2 separate regions of the Homo sapiens genome follow, and region 2 is linked to region 1. The links are contacts of gene promoters, found by promoter capture Hi-C in blood cells and fetal thymus (Javierre and others, 2016). All regions are on one chromosome and are shown on one strand. The core of a region is centred on a gene start or on the middle of the fragment in contact, and the rest is flanking DNA. Distances in the headings are between cores, read along the strand shown. Region 1 overlaps DNAI1 (dynein axonemal intermediate chain 1). Region 2 holds the start of MYORG (myogenesis regulating glycosidase).

What was found. Contacts are between HindIII fragments. The CHiCAGO score rates a contact against its expected background, and 5 or more counts as called.
Region 2: the fragment with the promoter of MYORG here is called in contact with a fragment that was not itself captured in region 1 in 1 of 17 cell types (endothelial precursors); the score reaches 6.3 in endothelial precursors.

The regions. Positions count from the first base shown.
Region 1 is chr9:34,495,609-34,498,183 of GRCh38, forward strand. DNAI1 (dynein axonemal intermediate chain 1) reads left to right here. Exons shown (of 20, transcript NM_012144.4): 10 at 1,507-1,591. Among named protein-coding and RNA genes, the nearest start is that of ENHO, 26 kb to the right of the region's middle. The HindIII fragment of the contact is 736 bases long and covers 914-1,649 here.
Region 2 is chr9:34,375,624-34,378,198 of GRCh38, forward strand. It overlaps MYORG (myogenesis regulating glycosidase), which reads right to left and starts at 1,275. Exons shown (of 2, transcript NM_020702.5): 1 at 1,170-1,275. RefSeq lists enhancers at 42-623, 624-1,204 and a silencer at 1,250-1,639. The HindIII fragment of the contact is 6,785 bases long and covers 1-2,575 here.

The sequences.
Region 1 (2,575 bases), core at 32-2,531:
GTCACCCGAGGAAGTGCTGACTTGAGGGCATGTGGCTGTGTCCTCCTACCTCAAAGGAGCTCTCACCAAGCATCCAATTCCTTGTGGCCAGAGGACAGAGTTGGGCCCATAGGTAGAAGATGCAGGGAGGGAGTTTCAGTTAACTGGCTATCTGGCCACAGAAAACACTGCCTGACCTGGGGAGAGTCACACTTACCAGGAAGCTGCTAAGGGGAGAGGATTCCTGCTCTGGGTCAGAGAATAGAGAGCGTAGCTGGAACCAGGTGAACTCTGAGGTCCGTGACTGCAAGACTCCAGTGAATGCCCTTCTTGGTCAGTTTTCAAAGATAAACTTGGAGTCTCTTTCAGGCGTGGCAAAAGGTCCTCAAAGGTCAGTTCCCCAGAAGTGACTTCATAACCCTTCGCTGCACTACTCTGCATGTTTCCTCTGACACCATCACCACCGGGAACTGGGTTAGACACTAACATGTATTATCACATTTCACCATCACAATGACCTGATGAGGCAGATGCCACCATCCGCCCCCACTTACCAGGAGGAGTCTAAGACTCAGAGAAGCTAAATAACTTGCCAGAGGTTGCCACCGGGTTCTAATTTTGGTGGGATGGGATAGGAGTGCAGGTCTGTGCGGCTCTAGAACCCATCCTTTTAACCGCTACCTGACGCTGCTGTTTCTGAGACATCGAATCCTTGGGAGCCATGGGCCTGGCCCCCTGACCCTACCCTGGAGGGCTGCCCATTCAGCTGGCTCACTCCTGCCACCTGCCCTAAGCCCTCTGGGCCTTTCCTGTTAGTCCCAAACTCTTTGCTCTTCTGTCAACCTGCCAAGCACCTCATCTTGGGGATTTATGGAATTTCACACAATGGCAAGCTTCCTTTTGGTTCAAGATGAGTCACGTTTTCCTGAAGTTAAGCTTCCTGCTTTCTCATTGGTCTGGGCTGTGGGGAGGGCCTGGAATTAGGAGTCTCAGTTCTGCCTTGTACTCCATGTATGTAAGCATGTCTCTCCCCTCTTTGGGCCTTGGTGCCTTCCTCAGCCTGTAACTGAGTAAGGGATAAAACCACATGATCTTTGAGGCCTTTAATGGGAGTCTTTCACTCTCTGAGCTGGTAAAACTTTTCTGTCTCCACCAAAGAAGGCTCCAACCTGCCCTTGTCTGCTCTCCCCTGCAGACCCTTCCTGGGCTCTCTTCAATGCCCTGTCTTGTGCTCAGAGATAGGCCTTCTCCAAAACAAGTCCAGAATGAAAGCATGAAGCAGGTTCTACCCAGGGGCCAAGTATATCAGCTCAGACCCTTTGTGCCACTTGTGAGGTAGGAGTTCCTAGAAGAGGGTAGTGGCATGAGCTGGGCCTTGAGACATGCAGAGAAACCTTTACAGAGCTATCTGGGGTGAGTAGTGCCAGAGAGCTACTGCTGAATCAATTGCAAGGGTGACATGGCTCAGGACATATGACCTTGCTAAGTGCTGGTTTATGAGGACCTGAAGTTTCTGTATCCCCACAGACTGATGATCTCATCAAATTGTCCCAAGCTGCTAAGATCATGGAGCGGATGGTCAACCAGAATACATATGATGACATTGCTCAAGGTAAGAGTTGAAGTTCTGGCAACCACTATTATTGCCTGTATTAAAAATTTCTCATAAAAGCTTGGGTTATTTGGGTGTCTCTTGCTAGCTCCTATAGGTGCAAGCGGAGAAAAAATAATCCCTCTGTCCTCTGGATGTCACTGGGGAGACAAGACTTATGTGGATTAACCATGACTGATGGCATAAGAAACAATGTGTATACTGATGAGATCTGGAAGTGGTGCAGCAAAGAATACCTGCACATGGGTGATCCAATCTCATCTTCCTGATAACCCTGGGAGGCAGGCAGAGCAGAGACTTGCCCATACTGTACACATGAGGAAGCTAAGGCTAAGGCCACCTGACTAGTGAGTGGCAGAGAGGACCCAAATAGAGGTCTCGATCTTCCTCATTCTATGCTCTGTCCTCTACTCAGAGCACCTTGGGAATGCTATAAATGCCAGAATGTATGGGGTAGACAGAAACCACTCTGGGGATCCTCACATAGGAGAGAAGGAAAGTGAGGGATGAGTGGGAGTAGTTATGGAAGGCTTTGGAGAGGGCTTAGCTAGATGCCAAGGGAGAAGCAGAGTGTGTGAGAGAAGATAGCTACAGGGAGGATGTTCTGGACAGGGATGGCATGAGCAGTGTCTTGGCAGTGAAACCGAATAGGAATGGACTCTGGGGACAAGGGACAGCAGGCTCCCTGACCCAAACAGGATCTTCATTGAAAAGAGGTGAGAGTTCAGGCGGAAGAGGTTGTTGGAGCCCATTAATGAAGGGCCTTGAATATCATGCAAGGAATGTGACCTATCTCTGCAGACAGTTCAGAGAACTGAAACTTTCTAGGCAGGGACACAGCCCGATGAGAGCAAGGCTGGAGGAGGATGTGATTGTGTAGAATATAGGGCAGAGGTGGAGGTGAGGCTCAAATGTGGGGTGGAATGGGCCTTACCACACCTGACCTAGCCTGTGTCTTAAGGAATGGAGAAAAGGGAACAGTTA
Region 2 (2,575 bases), core at 25-2,524, 120 kb before region 1:
TCAGTATCTGAAGAGGAGAGAGACTTCCTCATCCTCAAAACTTTCATATGAAGTCAGCCTATCTCATGAGCCCTGGAGGCAGGAAGAGGCCACCAAGGTGGATTCAAAAGCCCTTTCCGACAGTTATGTTTTGAGAATCTTAATTTTCTGGGATCTGAAGTTCTTTGATGAAAGACAGAAGCCCACAGGCCTGGGCACCCACCCACCCCAGGCACCATGATAGTGTCCCAAATGTCACCACAGCATCCAGTTCTATCAACAATGTGGAACAGCAGACATAGCTGCAGTGTCCATTTTACAGGTGAGGAAACGTGGCCCAAACAGAAAAAGGAACTTGTCTGAAGTTAGCCAGGTATCAAGGCTGCCTGGATCTAAAATCCCAGCCCAGCTCTCCACAGTGTAAGTTTTAGGAGATGGGAGATAATGATCTGACCTGGCTGCCTGAATGCAGTAGCAGAAAGGAGCCCTGGGGCTGAGCTGGTGGGACCAGCTTCCATCAGATGGACATGGCATGGTGAGGCCTGTCTTTCCAAGGGCTGGTGCTGCTGCTTGCTCCACGCGGACCACGAAGACCACGAGGGCAGCAAAGAGGGCAATTTTAATGGCATCTGGTACCGGGGCTTTGGGGGAGGAAGTCTGTGGTTCCGGTGTTAACAGTGGTGCCAGAGACCTCTGTAATCTGCCGCCTCCGCCAGGTGGAGTCTGGGCTCTGCCCCTGCTGAGCCTCTCCCCACCGGACACTCAACCTCAGCCTTGGCTGCCACAGCTAGTCTGGTCTGAGGGGGAGGGCCCCGCCCGACTCAACTGAGGGGAGGCCATTCCAAGTAGAATCGTTAGTTGGACACAGTTCCCGGGGGGATGGAAATGTCAAAGGCAACTCGATCCGGCCCATCTCCCTCTCCTGCCAGGCGACGGTATCCGCGGGGATCGAGTGACTGCCTACATAGCCTGGAATACTCCACAGCCGCCCTCCCTACCCCGCCCTGAAGGCTATACTGTCCGAAGGGGCCGACCGAGGTCAAGGGACCTGTCGCCCCGCGGGAATCGCGGCCGTGGGATGGGCCCAGGTGTTCAGGCTCGCTCCACCCATTCATCGGTGGGAGCGAAAGTTCAGGAATCGTGCTCCTTCAGCAGCCCCCCGCCCCCCACAGCCCTCCCGCTGGGCTCACCCATTGCAGTTACAGCCCGGCAGAAGCGGGGGTGAAAGAGCTTCCCGCCGATCCCCTGCGCTTGAACCAGAGTGAAGCTGCCGCCGCGCCGCGCGGGGCTCTGTCTGGCAGGGCACAGCCCCTCCTCGGGTCCCGCCCTGGGGTTCCTCGGCCACGCCCCAGTCATCCAGTCTCGTCTCGGGCCTCAGAGTCCAGCCCTGCCCTTGACGTTCGACCCCTCCTCCCAGGTTATCAGGCGGATCTGTGGCCCCGCCCCTCAGCCCCACCTTCCTCCCACCGCTCTGTGCTCTGCCCCTGGCATTTCAGGCTTGCTCAGTCCTGCGCCCCGCGGCTCCGACTCCCGCCGGCGGGCCCGCCCCTCCTGGGCCACTGCTAACCCGCAAGCGGGCGGGGCTCGGCCCCAGGCCTGCTGGGACATGTAGTTCTGCAGAAAGGAGCAGCTGCGGAAGGTTGGGGTTCTTGCACCTCTAGGCTAGGTTTGGAATGAGGATGAGAGGGAGAGAGCTGCAGGGTAAAGGAGCAGAGCTGGCCATTGGAATTCCTTCCTTCCCGGTTTGGACAGGTGGAGGCCATATCGGTATAACGCTCTCACAAGCCCTCAGCTTTCCATACGGAAAAGTGGTGGCGGAATTCCGCGAGTATCTCAGCTCCCAATGCAGGTGCTTCCAATCGAGGGCCCCACGGAGGGAGCTGTAGTTCCAACCCGCCGCGAGTCCAAGCTGTCGGTTCCCACCGGACCAAACCAGCGGTGTCCGAGGTCAGGGACTGAGAAGACCGGTTTCTGCTCGGTGTTTTGCAACGTCACCCGCCTCCCAGACCGCTACCCCCAGACTAGTTATTTATAGGGTCCAGCCCCTCCTCCTAAGTTACAGCCTTTAGTTAGAAATGCCCAAGCTGCGGGAAAGTGGGTGTGCCCCGCCATGCCCCTCTCCCCGGGGGCTGGGCAAGACTCTGAGGTTTCATTTCTTTTTTATTTTATTTTATTTTTATATTTATTTATTTTTGAGTTTCGTTCTTGTTGCCCAGGCTGGAGTACAATGGCACGATCTCAGCTCACTGCAAACTCCGCCTCCCGGGTTCAAGCAATTCTCCTGCCTCAGCCTCCCAAGTAGCTGGGATTACAGGCACGCACCACCGCGCCTGGCTAATTTTGTATTTTTAGTAGAGACAGAGTTTCACCATGTTGGTCAGGCTGGTCTCAAACTCCTGACCTCAGGTGATCTACCTGCCTCGGCCTCCCAAAGTGCTGGGATTACAAGTGTGGGCCACCGCGTCCGGTCTTTATTTTTTTGAGAGAGGGTCTCGCTCTGTCGCCCAGGCTGGAGTGCAGTGGCGTTAACATAGCTCACTGCAGCCTCAATGTCCTTGGTTCAAGCTATCCCCTCCCGCCTCAGGCTCCTGAGTAA